Linked DNA regions of Homo sapiens: region 2 is linked to region 1. Evidence: promoter capture Hi-C in 16 types of primary human blood cells and fetal thymus (Javierre and others, 2016). All regions are on one chromosome and are shown on one strand. The core of a region is centred on a gene start or on the middle of the fragment in contact, and the rest is flanking DNA. Distances in the headings are between cores, read along the strand shown. Region 1 overlaps CPSF7 (cleavage and polyadenylation specific factor 7). Region 2 holds the start of PRPF19 (pre-mRNA processing factor 19).

Region 1 (5,014 bases), core at 1,464-3,963:
TCTCAAGAATGTTCCAAAATTTCTATTGAAAACGTACTAATATCTTGCCTGGGTTATTTTCAGCACCATTCTATGTAAGTAAGCTGGCTCTTCCCATTTGCATCTTCCAGTGGGTACACATAAGGACCTGGTAAGAGCATGTATTGAATGGGTTAGAAAGGGAAAGTTCCCTGGTTTGACCCTGACTTTGATATGAGGCAACAGAAGAGGCGGATACATGCCATTTATTTTTCACTTGGCATAAGTTTACATGAAAATCTATTTTTTGATGTATTATGGTTTTATAACATGGAAATTATAAACCATACACAAAAGCAGAATAATGTAATGACCTTGTACCCATTATACAGCTTCACCAATTATACTTTTTAATGGCAGGTTTCTTGTCTCTGTTGTGGTTAACTGTGGTCCTTTAAATATAGCTGCTGATTATCTTAAATAGATGAATTTTCCTTTTTTTTTTTTTTTTTTCTTGAGACAGAGTCTCTCTCTGTCACCCAGGCTGGAGTGCAGTGGCGCGATCTCGGCTCACTGCAACCTCTGCCTCCCAGGTTAAAGTGATTCTCCTGCCTCAGCCTCCTGAGTAGCTGGGACTACAGGCGTGGGTCACCTCACCTGGCTAATTTTTGTAATTTTAGTAGAGACGGGGTTTCACCATGTTGGCCAGGTTGGTCTCGAATGCCTGACCTTGTGATCCGCCCGCCTTAGCCTCCCAAAGTTGGGATTACAGGCGTGAGCCACCGTGCATGGCGAAAAAATTTTTTAGTTTTAAATAAGTCCAATAATTATGGATAAAAGAGAAAAGTTCTAGATGTTAATTTAGTTACAAAATCATTGTTTTCCTGAGTTTTCCATATTCATTTGAATCAGACTTTTAATACCTTAAAAAAAAAAACACACAGTCTTGCTGTGTTGCCTAGGCTGGTCTCTCAACTCCTGAGCTCAAGCGATTCTCCCACTTCAGCCTCCCAAACTGTTGGGATTATAGGTGTGAGCCACTCTGCCCAGTTCAGACTTTTTGCAGATTATGTTTTTCCCCCACCAAGATAACAAGAGCGGTCCTTAGTTCTTCTCTTTTTTTTTTTTTTTTTTTTTTTTTTGAGACAGAGTCTCTCTTTGTCGCCAGGCTGGAGAGCAGTGGCACCATCTTGGCTCGCTGCAACCTCCTTTTCCCAGGTTCAAATGATTCTCCTGCCTCAGCCTCCTGAGTAGATGGGACTACAGGCGCGCGCACCGCCATGCCCAGCTAATTTTTGTATTTTTAGTAGAGACGGGGTTTCACCATGTTGGCCAGGATGGTCTCAATCTCTTGACCTTGTGATCTGCCCACCTCGGCCTCCCAAAGTGCTGGGATTACAGGCGTGAGCCGCCGTACCCAGCCACCTTTGTTATTAATGAAAAGCTTTTCCCCTTCTAATTTCTTATCTGTGGATTGATAATAGTGCCATTCATTTCACTTTGAGAAATACGCAGAACTCATTGTCCAGTGGTCACTGCTTTGTTAGAGTATAAGTTATTGGCCTCAATAGTTTGTTCTCTGGTCTCCTCAGTTAAAAAGGACTTTTTTATGGGTCTAAGACAGGCTAAAGGTAGTATGTGGACTTTAATAGATACATATATCCAACGGGCAATATTTGACACTAGGCAAGCTGAAGAAAGTGTGAATTTTGAATATCTTATGTTTTGTGGAAGGTGAGGGATGAGTGCTTCCCCCCCACACACATATCAATTAGTTATTTTTGACAAAGTTAGTGTTAGTGTCATCTGGAAGCTACAGAAATTATTTAAAAAACAAAAAAACAAAAAAACTTTGGCTAGAATTGTTAGAAGCTGGCTTAGTCTGAAGGCACCCAGTACAAATTGTGTTTTAGAATGTTTTAAGAATGTTACTGATTTCGCCCCAAGCTGGCCCATGCACAGGAAGCCCTTCATGTGCACTTTGCTCCTCAAGGAAAATTAATATTTTTCCTAGATGGAACCCTATGGTGCTTATTCCCTGATCTCTTAGAGCATTTGCTGCAAAAGCCTGTTTTTGCCAGAGCTACTTTATTCCTGTAACACAGGGAGTCCTGGGATTCACATTGGCTCTCTTGGGCCAGGGAGAACTCTGGAAAGGTGACTGAGATCAGTTGCTCTGCTGGGAGTTTTGGCTTTTCATACTGAGACAGGCTTTGCACAGTGTCCAGTTCTCTTCCTTATGTCCATCAATAAGTATTTATTTATTGAGCTACTTGTGTTTGCTAAGCACTGTGCCAGGACTAGTGAGGTAAAAGGAAAAAAAAGTGGGTCCCTGTACTCAAAACAGATTCCACTCCTGGTGGGTAGGGGTGGTGGACAACGACAATGTACAGTGAAGGACAAGGAGGGTGTGAAGTGGGAACTGTGGAAATGGTCATTATAAAGCCAAAATTTTTGATTAAGCCTTGGTTACAATTAAAAGAAACAATGGTATCAAGTTGGTTGCTCTGAGAAAAATAAATCCTAGGCTAGTTACTTCCCTCAGTGGGATATGAGGAAGAAGAGGGTGGAGGTTAGGAACACTGAGCAGACAAGTGGAGAAGATCTTATTTAAATTGAAAATCACACATGTTCTCTTTTGTTTACAGGGAAGCAGGAAGTTTCATGAGACAGTCACAGTTCTTTCTGTGCCATTAAACACAAAATTCTTTGAGATAGTTATTCAGTATTAAATATATGTTTCATGTTTAATCTCCCTGGAATGAAACTTTGAACATCAGTGCATGTAAAATGTACTTTTCACTTAATTTGTAGAATTTGATTTTACTTTAATCTATTACTGCATAAATCCGCTGAGAAAAATCTCCGGCCCTTAACTGTGTTTCTGTCTTACTAGCTGAACAAGTAAAATGAATTGTGATGCTGGGGGATTAAAATCCAAACAATTTGATACCTTGTTTCTTCAGTAGAACCCTCAACAGACCTGCCCTGTGCAGTTCCCACCAGCTTCTTTGAACTGAGGCTCTGTGGCCCAGAGAGACCATTTAAATCTTGTGATAATTTTGTATTCATTCAATCCTTTTGTTTCTAAAAGTGGTAGCCATACCAAGATTCTCCAGGATCTAGTCTATCCTATTCTTAAGGGATCTTAAAACAGTGGATTGGTTGCCTAAGCATATAGTACGAAGGGTTTCCTGGTGATGCATTTGGTCTCTGAGCTGTCCAAATCTGCATGTTAGTCCACTACTCAATTTTCAGTGATCATTTTTACATTACAAATTTTAGACACATATACCTGAATTACAGATACTGCATGGAAGGGAATCTCAGTTTGGTTCCATTCGATTATCCAAGATGATGTGTTTCCTTATTCTGTTTACGTGTCATTTGAAAATCCTTGATTTAAAAAAAAAGAAGGCTGGGTGCAGTGGCTTACGCCTGTAATCCCAGCACTTTGAGAGGCTGAGGTGGGAGGATCACCTGAGGTCCGGAGTTAGAGACCAGCCTGGCCAACATGGTGAAACCCCATCTCTACTAAAAATACAAAAATTAGCTGGGTGTGGTGGTGCACACCTGTAATTCCAGCTGCTCGGGAGGCTGAGGCAGGAGAATCACTTGAACCCAGGAGGCGGAGGTTGCAGTGAGCCAAGATTGCGCCACTGCACTTCAACCTGGGTGACAAAGTGAGACTCTATCTCAGAAAAAAAGAAGAATCTTGGTGTGAAGTAGTGCTTTCTAAGGATTTGAGCATTGGATGGGATCAAGTGATGTATATAAATCCTTTCTCTACCTTGAACCACAGGAGCAACTCACCATACCTGGTACATGAATAGAAGAGTGATTTGTCTATAGAGTTGGGATAGTTTGAGACGTAACAGCTATGAAATATTTTATAGTGATTACTTACACACAAAATGTTTTCCCACTCATTAGCCCTAGCTGACCTCACCTTACTTTATTATCCACCCTGTCCTCTCCAGTGTTAGCTTCTCTCCTCATTCTTTACATGCTGACCCTTTTTATGCACAATCCTTTTTGATGGATTTGACTACATGGAACAAGCTTCCTGTGCTTATTTGCCTCACTAATTTCTTGTTGTTAAGTTGCCCCCTAAAAGTTTACTGTCTCTTGATATTCTTTTTCTAACGTTTTTACAAGGGTTAAGCCCTCCTGGTGGGTTTCTTAGAGTGTTTTAATATTTGAAATTATTTATATGCTTTAGGAAGTAGAATCCTTCCCCCTTCTCTATCAGAACAACCCAAGATTATTCTCTTAGTGTGCATTTTCTTCCACTGTACTTCAGATAAACTGAAAAACTGAAAGATTGTTTCCAAAGGTTCTTATAATACAAGGACTGGTCTAAGAGTAAATTTTTTAGTGAGTCGTCTTCAGATCACTTCAGAATTAGCAGTTATTGCCGTGATATTGGAGGGAGAAAGTTAAGGGAGCCGCCTGTCTTTAGTTGCCTTGGAGAAACTGTTTCTTCAGGGTACTAGACAAGTTTCCCAACTTAGGTGCCTCCTTTATTCCCTTTTTAAAAGAATAGCAATATGAAACTGCCGTAGCATCCTTAAAACACTGAACTACTTGCTGTCTCTGTCATTTTGGCAGCATTATCTTTAGCATTGTTTGAATGTTTTGTCTAATTCTTGTAATAAAAATAAAATGCTTGTCTAATCCTTAAAAAGATTTCTCTGAGGCTAGGCACGGTGGCTCACGCCTGTAATCCTAGCACTTTGGGAGGCCGAGGTGGGCAGATCACGAGATGAAGGGTTTGAGACCAGCCTGACCAACATGGTGAAACCCCATCTCTACTAAAAATACAAAAATTAGCTGGGCATGGTGGTGTGTGCCTGTAATCCCAGCTACTCAGGAGGCTGAGGCAGGAGAATCACTTGAACCCAAGAGGCAGAGGTTGCAGTGAGCTGAGATGGCGCCACTGCACTCCAGCCTGGGCAATGGAGCAAGACTGTGTCTCAAAAAAAAAAAAAAAAAAAAAGATTTCTCTGAGGTAATTACATTGTAGAATCCTGAACCCTTTTTTTTTTTTTTTTTT
Region 2 (5,014 bases), core at 1,175-3,674, 520 kb after region 1:
CCTTTGTTCACAATGGAGTTCTGCCCCTCACCTTCCCACAATTTGTTGCCACCTCCTCCAGAGCTCATAAGAACTTTGTCCCAAGGCATTGTTTGTTCTTGGGGCTCATTCATTTCCCCTAAAAATTATTTGCTAGCCCTCCCTAAAAATTATTTGCTAGCCCTCAAAATTGCCTACATTTCCCCCATCTCCGTCTTTCCTGGGTGCCATTTAAGTAAGCATCAGCCACCTGTTCCTTCTTTGAGCCTCATATTTTGTATTACTCCTGTGCACACTCACACACTAATACACTTGTATGCCTTTTCTCCTGTTATTCTGTCGATTGTCAGTTAATTTCAGCAAATCTTTAGAGGGCAGAGGGGAAACTTTTTTGCTCCATACCCTCATTCAGTTCTCAGCAAAAAAATCAGCTCCTCAGTGATGCACTCTCTAAGTGCCCTGCCTCAAGTAGCCGTTCCTCCAATCCCCAGCACCTCTGTCTACCTTGCTCTGATTTGTTGTATTCATAGCACTTACTACTCTGGAATTTTCTTCTTAAGTGTTGATTGTCTCTGTGCTCCCACCACCCACAGTAGAGTGTAAGCTCCAAGACAGCAGAAACTGTGTCTTTCTTGTTGACCTTTTCTATCTCCAGTTTTTACAATAGGGCTTGGCACATAGGAAGCACCCAATCAATATTTGTTGGATGAATGAAATGCCTGGGGAATAACATGAATAGATATTTCGTTCAAAGTGGATCACTGTCTGCTCTGTGGAAAGTAGATTAGGAGGAGGAGGCCAGGCTGGAAGCAAGGAACAAGTGGGAAGTTACTTTGTTGGTGCAAGACAGAGATGAGATGCCCTTTTGCATATTAACTCTTCATAAGAGTTCAGTGAGTTAGTTCTACCCTTGTCATCACTCCCTCTGTTTTACAGATGAGGAAACTAAGGCATAGAGAAGTTCATACTGCCAATCACCTGAGTGGTGCTAGGATTTGAGCACACAGTCTGACTTCAGAGTCCATGCTCTTGGCCACTATGCCATATTGCCTTTTGTACCTGTAACTTTTATTTTTCTCTCCAAGCTTTTGCTTACGTTGTTTCTTCTTCCGGAATGCCTTTCGTTCTCCTTCTCCTCTGAATACTGCCCACCTGTCAAAGTCCCTCTCACTCACATCCTGTTCATCCTGCCCTTTTGTCTTGATACCTTACAGTCCACACCACGTCTTTTGCATGATTCCTGAGAGTATCTTATCTTACAGATATCCACAAAGAATCATACACTATCTGAGCTGGAAGAGAAATAGAAAATACAAAATCCAAAATACAAAATAAAGAAATTTATAGGAGGCCATTGGTTTGGACTGAGCTCTTCTGCTAGGCCTAACAGACCAAGCTAAAAAGAGTTAGTCCTGCTGAAGCTCCACGCCAATAAGCTGAAACGAAGATCTTTACGACCTTCTGAGTGTGTATGTGTGTGTGTGTGTGTGTGTGTGTGTGTGTGTGTGTAGGGGGGAGCTAAATTCCCAAACAGGCAAGTTTTAGGTGGCATGATAAGTCCCCTCCACTTTAACCTTTACAAGAAAAGTAATTTTGAAATTACCAAATGACCAATCCGCTTTTTGTTCTCTGTTCCTGTTTTCCTCAGTCCTTTTCTGTCTATAAAACCAAGTTCTCCTGTTCAGCTCATTGGAACAACCATTATATTTTATAGTATGAGGCACTGCCCAATTCTATAGAATCGCACCTTAAGTCCCAGCTACTCCGGAGGCTGAGGCAGAAGGATCACTTGAGGCCAGGAGTTCCAGGATGCACCTGTGATAGCCATGATTGCTATGACCGCACCTGTGAATAGCCACTGCCTTCCAGCCTGGGCAACATTGCCAGAGTCCGTCTCTTAAGAAAAAAAAAATCTTTGAACTAAGTTTGTTGTGATTTTGTCTTTTGACAAAGAAGAAAGGGCAATGTGAATTGCCCCAAATCACAGAGCGAAATGGTAGTAGTCAGGACCAAAACACTTTCTTAGCCGTTTTCTTAGTTCTTGTACCCATCTGTTTCTGTATTTTCTTCACCAGGCCATCCAGCAGTGTCTCTTAAAGGGTAGCCCGAGAAACAACTGACTTAGAAAAGCGTGGGGCACAGTCTGTCTACGCAGACCCGAGGAATCTGCATTTTAACAAACTCACTGGGAAATTCTCGCGCACGCCAAGGTTTCAAAGACCAGGGTCCCGTGGCACAGTGCCGCACAGTTGTCAAAACAAGTGCTGTCCAATTGTTTTGGTTTTAAATTCTCACTGCGTCATGGGAAATGTAGTTTCGAGCCTCCTCTCTCCCGACGCCCCAGCCAATCCTCCGGCGCTTTACGGAACGAGCCGAGTCAATCCGGAAATAACCGAGTGTTCGTGGCGGGCCCTTTCCTGCCCGGCTGCATTCTGGGAAAGGGCAATTTCCGTTAGGTGCTGAAGGCTGTGGCGCGCGGCTGTCCCCATTCCCACGTGAAGCGCTACGCTAGCATCGCTCGGCTGGCGGCTCCCAGCTCGCCGCGGAGCAGTCCCGGCAGCAGCGGGGGACCGGAAGTGGCTCGCGGAGGCTCAGAAGCTAGTCCCGGAGCCCGGCGTGTGGCGCCTCGGAGCACGGTGACGGCGCCATGTCCCTAATCTGCTCCAGTGAGTGTTGGCTGCGGCCAAGCGCGGGTCTCAGGAGGCCAGAGAGCGGCGCGGGAGCGTGTGCGGTCCGCTGCGGCGCCCGGGCCGGGGTGGAGGCGGGAATGGGGCGCTCCGGAGGCCGAGCGGCGGCCTGTCAGCACCGGAGCCCCCCCCGTCGGAGCGGGGTGCATTTGCGCAGTGCCCCGCAGTTTACATAGTGCCTGAGGTTTATTGTCGCAGACATTACTGAGGCCGGTCGCCTCATTCTACAGAGTGGAAACAGGTCTGGACAGAGAGAGCTGGTGCAAGGGAAGCAGCCTTAATGTAGGAGTCAGAAAACTCGAGGTCTTGTCCAGGGTCCGCCTCCCATTGGCTTTATGAATTGGCTCAAGGCTCTGGGCCTCGGTTTCCCCATCTGCAAAATCGAGAGCATTGCAGTGGATGTTTTGCGAGGCCTCGCTCGGATAGTCGGAGCTTTTGCAATTTGCAAAGGTCACATGATGAGTTAGAGGTAGAGGCAAGGCTGGCAGCCAGGTATCTGGCTCCCAGCCTTACACTGTATGACTAATAAAAACAGCGCACATTTATAAGCCCTTATTGGTTTACAACGCGCTTCCAAGTCTATGATCTCATTTTATCCTCACAAGAATTCCCTAAAGGAGAAATAAAGATCCTGGTTTTGCAGATGAGGATGCAAGGCGCAGGAAGAGCGGGGCTTATCTAAGGATGCGTAGCTAGTCAGTGGCAGAGCTGGGTGACGTAGTTAGGTGACACGGATCTTGGACCCTGAATCCATGCTTTTTTCATACCTTCCACTATCTTTCCCTTTGATATTTTATCATGACGTACAGACATTTTCCTTTCCCTTTTCGTTGTTTCATCAGATTACTCGTTTCCCCTCCCTTTTGCTATTCACTTCCTTCTCTTCTCAGAACCTGTACATTGATCCAAAGAGGGGGAAGAAGGAAGGGAAATGATGGAAAAGGAATCCCTCACTTTGAAGAAATTACAGCTCGCAAAGTACCTTCACATTTATTGTTTCCTTCCAATCTTCGGGAAGCTCTCTTTTACGTTCCCCAGCACCATCCTTCCTGGCATGGTTCACTCATTTGTTAGATGTTTACCGAGTGCCCTGGGGGCATCTGCATTGTACTGGAAGTGAGAGACCAGCTGTAATCCTTATCCTCAAGGGGTGCACAGTCTACGCAGGCAAGAGTGTAAATGATACCTCTATTGCGGGTTGTTGTGAAGATGAATTACTGTACTGTATGCCTAGAATTGTGCTTGGCACATAGAAATGTGCCATGCAAATGTGCCATGTAAATATTTTTAAATATTTTTATTGTAGCGATTGCCACTTTGCTCCTTGGAATCTTCCAGGTGATAAGTGTCTGTACGCTAATCAGTTGACTGGTAGCTGGTAGACTCAATAGCTTCAGGATGGGGACTGGTCACCTAGGAAGACTAAAGGGTATTAGAAGGTTGGGATTTTCAGTCCTACCCCCCATTTACCTGGGGAAATGAGAGGAACTGAAGTCGTCACTAGTGACCAGTGATTTATTGAATCATGCCTTTGTAATGAAGTTTTCATAAAAATACAAAAGGACAGGATTCAAAGAGCTTCTGTATAGCAGAACATGTGGGGGTTCCTGGAGGGTGGGGTGCCCAGGGAAGGCATGGGAAGCTCTGTACTTCTCCCATACCTCATCCTATGCTCCTCTTCATCTGTATCCTTTGTAATATCCTTTACAATAAACTGGTAAACATAAGTGTTTCCCACAATTGTTTGAGTCACTGTTGCAAATTAATTGAACCCAAAAAGGAGGTCATGGGAACCCTGATTTACAGCTGGTAGATCAGAAGAACAGGTCAAACAACCTGGGGCTTGCGATTGGCATCTGAAGGGGCGGGGAGTCTGGTGGGACTGAGACCTCAACCTGTATGATCTGACACTATCTCCAGGTACCTGGTGTCAGAATTGAATTGGAGGACACCCAGATGGTCACATCTGAGGTCACAGAAGTATTTTGTTTTGTCAGAGAATAGGAGAAACTGAGTTTGTTATTCCTGTATTCTCAGACTTTATAATTTCTTTGATAATCTGTCTGGAGCTATAGACTAAGATGGATGGCAGGGATTTGAATGGCTTCATGTGTATCTCCATGTCATGGAGTAAACTGTATTCATAGAGTACACAATCATTGTTCAGATATGAGGTGGTGATAATGGACTGCTATTCTCTAGGTGCTTGGCACATAGTAGTTGTTAATAATTATTTGTTGACTATATGATTGTCAGATAGTCAGGAGACTATCTCCTCAGTCAGGAGACTAAAGGAAAAGGTAGTTCCATAGCTGGAAAGCATTCTGGGGCCAGTACAGAACTGGCTT

What was found. Contacts are between HindIII fragments. The CHiCAGO score rates a contact against its expected background, and 5 or more counts as called.
Region 2: the fragment with the promoter of PRPF19 here is called in contact with a fragment that was not itself captured in region 1 in 4 of 17 cell types (naive CD8 T cells, naive CD4 T cells, total CD8 T cells and 1 more); the score reaches 7.2 in naive CD8 T cells.

The regions. Positions count from the first base shown.
Region 1 is chr11:61,423,113-61,428,126 of GRCh38, reverse strand. The region is part of intron 2 of CPSF7 (cleavage and polyadenylation specific factor 7); the gene reads left to right. Among named protein-coding and RNA genes, the nearest start is that of CPSF7, 4.4 kb to the left of the region's middle. The HindIII fragment of the contact is 2,618 bases long and covers 1,405-4,022 here.
Region 2 is chr11:60,903,995-60,909,008 of GRCh38, reverse strand. It overlaps PRPF19 (pre-mRNA processing factor 19), which reads left to right and starts at 2,424. Exons shown (of 16, transcript NM_014502.5): 1 at 2,424-2,645. The coding sequence starts at 2,627. PRPF19-DT (PRPF19 divergent transcript) reads right to left here and starts at 2,230. Exons shown (of 2, transcript NR_186697.1): 1 at 2,166-2,230. RefSeq lists enhancers at 1,972-2,091, 2,205-2,792 and a silencer at 2,732-2,831. The HindIII fragment of the contact is 4,469 bases long and covers 1,067-5,014 here.